Regions from separate parts of the Homo sapiens genome. Here all the other regions are linked to region 3. The links are contacts of gene promoters, found by promoter capture Hi-C in human tissues and cell types (Jung and others, 2019). All regions are on one chromosome and are shown on one strand. Each heading gives the region's core, a stretch centred on a gene start or on the middle of the fragment in contact. The rest is flanking DNA. Distances are from core to core; before and after follow the strand shown.

Region 1 (2,700 bases), core at 24-2,523, 300 kb after region 3:
TCATCCTTACAACAAACTTTTTAGGTTTGTTGTGTTTTTATCTTATAGAGGAGGACACTGAGACTCAAAATGACAAAGTAGTTTACTCCTAGGTTGGACTATTAAGTGCAATAGCCAGGGTGTGAGCCAGGTTTCTATTTCAGAGCCAGGGCTCCAACTGAATTTCAGCTGCCTCCCTGATGGACTGTTTAGATTATGTTGGGTCATGAATATTTTAGAAATAATTAAAAACCATTTAAGGGTTGTTTTCTCTAAGGCTGGTATAAATTGTAAATGAACAAATTTTAATCCCTTGAAATTAGTGACATTGTTGTGAGAATATGGGATTTTTTTCAGTACGACCTTTAATCTGTTGCTGCATGTTCTTGAAAATGTCCTTTTTGTTTCTTTTTGTTGTTATTGTTGTTGAGACAGGGCTTCTCCCTGTCACCCAGGCTGGAGTGCAATGGGGTGATCTCAGCTCACTGCAGCCTCCATCTCCCAGGCTCAAGCGATCCTCCCATCTTAGCCCCCTGAGTAGGTGGGACTACAGGCACGCCCACCACCCATGCCTGGTTAATTTTTGTATTTATTATAGAGATGGGGCTTCGCCATGTTAGCCAGGCTGGTGTTGAACTCCTGGGCTCAAGCGATCCTCCTGCCTTGGCCTCTCAAAGTATTGGGATTACATGAGTGAGCCACCGTGCCTGGCCACCCTTTGTTTTTGAAGTGTCTGTCCTAAAGCACTTTGGGAAGAACTTGGGTACCTTCTATTTGTGGGTGCTCTAAAAACTATTTAAAATTAGTTCATCAACCTAAAATATTTTCTACTTATTTTATTAAGTTCTTTTATTTTTAATTTGTTTTTAATATGATATAAATTTTAAAAAGTTTTTGGTTTTTAATTTTGTATTATTACATACTTTTTTAACTTCTTATATGGGCAGAGATGAATTTGGATTCAGAAGTTTAATTTTCATTTAAGAATGTTACTGCTGGCCGGGTGTGGTGGCTCATGCCTGTAATCCCAGCACTTTGGGAGGCTGAGGTGGGTGGATCACCTGAGGTCAGGAGTTCGAGACCAGCCTGGCCAAGATGGTGAAACCCCATCTCTACTAAAAATATAAAAATTAGCCGGACATGGTGGCAGGTACCTGTAATCCCAGCTACTCGGGAGGCTAAGGCAGCAGAATCTCTTGAACCCGAGAGGCGGAGGTTGCAGTGAGCTGAGATCATGCCACTGCACTCCAGCCTGAGCAACAGAGTGAGATTCTGTCTCCAAAAAAAAAAAAAAAAAAAAAAAAAAAGAATATTACTGCTAAGGGCTAGGTGTCGTAGCTCGTATGTGTAATCCCAGCACACTTTGGGAACCTGAGGCGGGTGAATCACCTGAGGTCGGAAGTTTGAGACCAGCCTGGTCAACATGGTGAAACCCCATCTCTACTAAAAATACAAAAATTAGCTGGGTGTGGTGGTGCACACCTGTAATCCCAGCTACTCAGGAGGGTGAGGCATGAGAATCGCTTGAACCCAGGAGACACAGGTTGCAGCAAGTCGAGATTACGCCGCTGCACTCTAGCCTGGGCAACGGAGTAAGACTCTGTCTCCAAAAAAAAAAAAAGTTACTCATTGTATTGTATTTCTTGCCAATCTTATTAGTCTTTTATAGGAAGTTTGAAAGAAAATTGATTGGTGGAAGTGAGAAAAACTTGTACCATTAAATTACAAGAAATAGCCAGCCGGGCACAGTGGCTCTTGCCTGTAATCCCAGCACTTTGGGAGACCGAGGCGGGCGGATCACGAGGTCAGGAGATTGAGACCATCCTGGCTAACACGGTGAAACCCCGTCTCGACTAAAAATACAAAAAAATTAGCCGGGCGTGGTGGCGGGCACCTGTAGTTTCAGCTGCTGGGGAGGCTGAGGCAGGAGAATGGCGTGAACCCGGGAGGCAGAGCTTGCAGTGAGCCGAGATTGCGCCACTGCACTCCAGCCTGGGCGACAGAGTGAGACTCTGTCTCAAAAAAAAAAAAAAAAAAAAATTAAAACAAATCTGGCCTGCACTGCAGCCTGGGTGACAGAGCGAGACTGTTGTCTCAAAACAAACAAACAAAAAACAAGAAATCTGGCAGATCACTTGATTTCAGGAGTTTGAGACCAGCTTGGGAAACTTGGCAAAACCCTGTCTTTCCTAAAAAATACAAAAAATTAGCTGGACGTGGTGGCGCATGCCTGTAGTCCCAGCTACTCGGGAGGTTGAGGCAGGAGATCGCTTGAACCCAGGAGGCGGAGGTTGCAGTGAGCTGAGATCACGCTACTGCCCTCCAGCTTGGGTGATAGAGTGAGACTGTCTCAAAATAAAGAAATAAATAAATAAAATTACAAGAAATGTTTGTATGTTTATACTTACTAGTTTTACTTATTTTTATTTCTTTTTGTTATTTTTTGCAAATACTAGTAGAGCAGAGTGAAGGTTTAGGTGTGATACTAACTAAATTCTGTTTCTCTTTCCTTTCTCTCCTTGGTTTTGTTTTTATTCAGAGCCTGCAACTGGTGAAAGAAAAAATGGATCTACTGCTGTTGCTGAGTCTGTTGCCAGGTAACCAAAGCTGGATGCTATTTAGAGTTTAATACACAGCTACTGGTGATGAGGGTAGATGGTTTATCAACAAAGGAAAAAAGTTAAAATGAGAAAGTTAAAATGAGACTCTTTCATAAAGGAT
Region 2 (2,700 bases), core at 102-2,601, 420 kb after region 3:
CGCATGTGCAGTATTTGCTTCCACCTGAAAACAAAACAAAAGACTCTTTTATCCCACAATATTCTTTAGCCACTGCCCTGACCCTTTTTTCCTTCTGAGTTAAGCTCCTCGAAAGTATAATAATTTAGACTGGATACCTCCTTTAACTCACCTCCTATTCACTGAAACATGGATTCTGCCCTTATTGCTCCACAGAAACTGCTCTCCCTAAGGCCATTAATGAGCTTTTAAACACCAAATCTAAATGTCACTTTTCAATTACCGAATCTTTATCCTGATCCAAACCTTTTCTTTCTTATTTCATTTTGTTCCACAAGAAAACATTGGAAAATACGAAACTTTTTCTTGACTCCAGTATCCAAATCTGCTGGACTCCAAAACTCACACTCTTAACCATTATGCAGTACCACCTGTAGTTAACCATAAAGTTATCTGATTTCCTTTTCTATTTCAGCCAGTCAGTCACCAAATCCCAGTGAACAAATGATAAATTTCCTAAATGTCTCTGGAAGTGGTTTCCTATGGATGACTCCCAGACACCCAATTTAGAAACTTTATGATTATTCTGAAGTCTAACCTGGATTTACTCCTTAAAAACAAAGCTCAGAACATATCACAGGGAACAATCACCTCTCTTCAGTGACTCCCCTTTCTGGGGACATATTCAACACTACTTTAAAATCCACAGAATTCTCCAAGGCGGTGTGATGAGAAAGAGAGGCTGAGTGGTTTATTCACCGTCAGTCTAACATAGGGCTGGGAATACAAGGGAATCAACAGTCTACTATCTGTGGGGAAACGTCTTCTTGTTAGGTGTCTATAAATTATTTGTAAAGGTCGGTTTCTTCAGTTTGCACCCTGGCCTTAGTGACTTGTTTTCAAGTTTTAAATGGGGTTCTCTTTTGCAACTGTGAGAGCATTAAATAAATCAGCAACTATTAGCACCCAAGGAAGCTAACTAATCCTTGCCTACTGAAGGTCCGTGGTGCCGACCCTTCTTGGCTCCTACCAGACCCTTCCTTGGCGGTCCAAGGAAGCCAAGTCGTCAGTCCCCACAGACTCACCTCTTAGAGATTTCTCAACTACAAGGACTTAGGCAAGGTTTCCCTTTTGACTGGAAGGCTTGTAGAAACGTGACAACCCGCCTTCCCTAACACTCATGTCACAGCGGTAGCGGACCGTATTCTGGGACAAATGGAACTCACGACATTCCAAAGAAAGGTCAGCCGCAAGCGAACTTAGCACTGGCTACACCCTCCTCAATTCTGGTTGGCGAGATGCGCTCTTCCCGGAAGTGACGCACAAGTGCCGGCGGAAGGGGAAGTCCAGGAGCATGGGTGGTTTTTTTCCCCCTACCGAGGTCCGTGAGGTGTGTGCTAACCAAGGGGCGGCTCACAACCGTGACAGACTGCCATTCCTGAGTCTCTTCTGGCCATGGGCCCCCGGAGCCGTGAGCGTCGGGCAGGCGCGGTACAGAACACCAACGACAGCAGCGCCCTCAGCAAGCGTTCCCTGGCCGCGCGCGGGTACGTGCAGGACCCCTTTGCCGCGTTGCTGGTTCCGGGCGCGGCGCGCCGCGCACCGCTCATTCACCGAGGCTACTACGTCCGCGCACGCGCCGTGAGGCACTGCGTGCGCGCTTTTTTGGAGCAGATTGGCGCGCCCCAGGCCGCGCTTCGCGCGCAGATCTTGTCTCTCGGCGCTGGCTTCGACTCGCTCTATTTTCGCTTAAAAACCGCGGGCCGCCTGGCCCGGGCTGCAGTCTGGGAGGTGGATTTTCCGGACGTGGCGCGGCGCAAAGCAGAAAGGATTGGAGAGACGCCAGAGCTGTGCGCGTTAACCGGGCCTTTCGAGAGGGGGGAGCCCGCGTCCGCGCTGTGCTTTGAGAGCGCAGACTACTGCATCCTGGGTCTGGACTTGCGGCAGCTCCAGCGAGTGGAGGAGGCCCTGGGCGCCGCGGGGCTCGACGCAGCCTCACCCACTCTGCTCCTGGCCGAGGCGGTGCTGACCTACCTCGAGCCGGAGAGTGCCGCGGCCCTCATCGCCTGGGCAGCCCAGCGTTTTCCTAATGCCCTTTTCGTGGTCTATGAGCAGATGAGGCCTCAAGACGCCTTTGGCCAGTTCATGCTGCAACATTTTCGGCAGCTAAACTCCCCCCTGCATGGCCTGGAGCGTTTTCCTGACGTGGAGGCGCAGCGGCGCCGCTTCCTTCAAGCTGGCTGGACCGCCTGCGGTGCCGTGGACATGAATGAATTCTATCACTGCTTTCTTCCCGCAGAAGAACGCCGGCGGGTGGAAAATATTGAACCCTTTGACGAATTTGAGGAGTGGCATCTGAAGTGCGCCCATTATTTCATTCTGGCAGCTTCTAGGGGAGACACCCTCTCCCACACCCTAGTGTTTCCATCCTCAGAGGCATTTCCTCGCGTAAATCCTGCTTCGCCTTCAGGGGTATTCCCTGCCAGCGTAGTCAGTAGCGAGGGCCAGGTCCCAAACCTGAAGAGATATGGCCACGCCTCTGTCTTCTTGAGCCCAGACGTTATTCTCAGTGCAGGAGGATTTGGAGAGCAGGAGGGGCGGCACTGCCGAGTGAGCCAGTTTCACTTGCTCTCAAGAGATTGTGACTCTGAATGGAAAGGCAGCCAAATAGGCAGTTGTGGGACTGGAGTTCAGTGGGATGGACGCCTTTATCACACCATG
Region 3 (2,700 bases), core at 109-2,608:
GAAGGGAAGACCTGAGTCTGAAGCAAATAAAAGTTATACACAACTTTTACTGACATTTTTGAACACGGATAGTATTAAACCAAGGGTCACTGTGCCAGGAGGGGAAAAATTAAGTACTGTAATTATATATATTGAATTATATATAGAGAGCTATCCCCAGGATAAAGGAATCACTGTTTACTCTGGTAATGATCTGGAGGTTTAAAAACACACACACACACAAATAAAAAAAAAAAACAAACACTCAAGTTGACTGGGCCAGAAATCTTATTTGCTCTTCCTTCTCCCCAACAGTTTTTTATTTCGAGTTAGTTCTATCTAAGGAATTTACACCCTTGATCACTTAAGTCACCCTAAAGTGGAGTATGTAATCAATATTGGTTATTTTCTCATTGGAGTCTTTTTTGACATTTTAAAGAAATGCTATTTAAAACAGACAATATGGACAGATTCTGATGGAATTATTCTTGTTCACGTACTCCTTTCGTTTGGACAGAGGTATCTGCCGGTACTGAGATGTAAGTGATCAGCTGAAGGGAGAAACTGTACACCATGTGACGGACAAATTACCTGCCTCAAGAAAGCACTTACGACCATTCTGCAGCCACTCAGTGACCTTGGCTAGAAACCAATGGCTGTGCGGCGTGAGGTAAGATGAAAGGAAATACCCTAGGGATCCAGGACTTCTGCATTTGGTGAAACGTCCGCTTCCACTACAAGGCTTTGGGATGCCTAGTCTGTAGACTGGAGGAGCATTAATACTGACTCACGCAGAAAAGATATAGCTACATATTGGACTGGGGGAAGGGGTGGCAAAACCCTCTGCAAATAGGAAGTGCCACAAGAGCACCGAGATAAGGATGAGGCCCTGCGTGAGCGCAGCCTTCGGGTTTTCCTTGGGCCGATCAGCACCGACTCCCCCGCTCTCGGCGAGGCGCCTCCAGCTCCCGGGAATGAGAAATGTGCCCGCCGCAGCAGGGGCCCACAGGAATGAAGGGCCCCGGCGCTGCGTAGGCCCAACAGTTCCCCGCGCTCTCGCCCCCGGCCCAGCCCCGCCTTTCTTCCCCCGCCTCGGCAGAATGGACTCACCAGGGGGCGAAGAACTCGACGAGCATGAGGCCCGCAGAGCCCGTGTCGGAGATGCGACTCTCGAAGTTGTCGTCCGTGAGTTCTAGCACGTCGGAGGCAGCGGCGAGGCGGGCCGCGGCAAGAAGCAGCGCCACACCCGGGAACAGCGCTAGGCGGCGGAGGCGCATGGCGGCGAGGTGGGGTGGGGACGGCCGGAAGGGTCGCGGCTCGGCTGGGACTGCGGAGGTCGGGCGCGCGACCACTAACCCGCTGCTTGCGCTCGCGCGTCTGGCCCAGGCGGACCTGCAGCCGGAGGTCCCAACCCCCAAACCCGGCTTGGGCCGCTGTGTGGCAGCCGCTGATTGGCTGCGCGTCGCCTTCGTCGGGCGGGCGGGACCAACTCGTTACCGCCGAGTGGCCGGAGCGCGGGGCGGGGCCGAGGCGGCGAGTGTCTGGGCGAGCGTGGCTGGGCCCGGTCCTGGGCTGGGGGCAGGGGCTAGGGCCGGGTCCCGGGGTGAGCCGAAACCTGGGGGTCGGGCGGGGCGGGAAATGGGGCGCAGTGAGGCTGGGAGCCGGCCCTGAGCTCGTCCTGCGTAGGGGTAGCCGGGCTCAGGGGGCGCCTGAGCTGGAGGTGGAAGCGTGAAGTCAGGACTGAGTGGGCGAAGAGAACCTGGGCTGAGGTGAGGCCCAGAAGCGAGAATGGAGGAGAGAAGGAGCTAGCCCCCGAAGGAGTGTTGGAGTGGACACACTTGGGACGGGACCCATTTTCAAAATGTCAGGCTTTGGCATTTTGTCCAATTTCTCTTCACTTGGTTTCTCTTGCGTGGGCAGGCCAAGCCCTCCCCCAACTCCACCTCATTGCCCGATTCTCTCAGGCCCAGGTGGGACCCAGGTTCTTCTTTGTCCAGCCCCGGGCCCCTGCCCTTGTGGCTGCTCCTTTTTTATTGAGTTTCTTGTTTTGTTTTGTTTTGTTTTGTCTGAGATGCCGTCTTGCTCTGTCCCCCACGCTGGAGTGCAGTGGCGCGATCTCCGCTCACTGCAAGCTCTGCCTCCCGGGTTCACGCCATTCTCCTGCCTCAGCTTCCCGAGTAGCTGGGCCTACAGGCGCCCGCCACCACGCCCGGCTAATTTTTTGTATTTTTAGTAGAGACCGGGTTTCACCGTGTTAGCCAGGATGGTCTCTATCTCCTGACCTCGTGATCCGCTCGCCTCGGCATTCCAAAGTGCTGGAATTACAGGCGTGAGCCACCACGCCCGGACTTTTTTTTTTTTTTTTTTTTTTTTTAATGAGCTTTTAATTGGTAGTGCCGTCACAAAGTGAAGATGCCTGGCCACTTGGTCGACTGCTCAATGTCTTTACCACTCTTAGCCCCTTTTGTTTCAAAAAACCCTGAGTCTTAGTAGAATGTTTGTTCTGCCCAACTGCTCCTAGTTCGTAGATGTGGGTACATTAAGGAATCTTAAGGGCAAAGAGGGTGGGGAGGAGGGGACAGAAAACCTGTAATCCTTGGTGCAGCTCCAAGAATGAAATGACACTTGATGCTTACATTTTCTTAGCAGACATGGCCGCTTACCAACAAGAAGGGCAGATGCAGCTTCCCCGAGCTGATGCCATTCGTTCACGTCTCATCG

The links. The method cuts DNA at HindIII sites, captures the fragments that hold promoters and counts their contacts. A contact is called where the count stands out against the background at its distance.
Region 1: a fragment that was not itself captured here is called in contact with the fragment with the promoter of PDIA3 in region 3 in 1 of the 25 tissues and cell types used here (hippocampus).
Region 2: the fragment with the promoter of LCMT2 here is called in contact with the fragment with the promoter of PDIA3 in region 3 in 2 of the 25 tissues and cell types used here (liver and stomach).

What each region holds. Positions count from the first base shown.
Region 1 is chr15:43,441,402-43,444,101 of GRCh38, reverse strand. It overlaps TP53BP1 (tumor protein p53 binding protein 1), which reads left to right. Exons shown (of 28, transcript NM_001141980.3): 15 at 2,519-2,576. Among named protein-coding and RNA genes, the nearest start is that of TP53BP1, 50 kb to the left of the region's middle. RefSeq lists an enhancer at 1,485-2,088. The HindIII fragment of the contact is 4,843 bases long and covers 1-2,700 here.
Region 2 is chr15:43,329,224-43,331,923 of GRCh38, reverse strand. It overlaps LCMT2 (leucine carboxyl methyltransferase 2), which reads left to right and starts at 1,351. Exons shown (of 1, transcript NM_014793.5): 1 at 1,351-2,700. The coding sequence starts at 1,435. It overlaps MAPDA (N6-Methyl-AMP deaminase), which reads right to left and starts at 1,252. Exons shown (of 13, transcript NM_001324366.2): 1 at 1,065-1,252; 2 at 1-24. RefSeq lists enhancers at 1,211-1,260, 493-1,443. The HindIII fragment of the contact is 18,030 bases long and covers 1-2,700 here.
Region 3 is chr15:43,745,096-43,747,795 of GRCh38, reverse strand. It overlaps PDIA3 (protein disulfide isomerase family A member 3), which reads right to left and starts at 1,358. Exons shown (of 13, transcript NM_005313.5): 1 at 1,090-1,358. The coding sequence starts at 1,256. It also overlaps the pseudogene CATSPER2P1. RefSeq lists enhancers at 733-782, 793-842 and a silencer at 1,343-1,642. The HindIII fragment of the contact is 12,404 bases long and covers 1-2,700 here.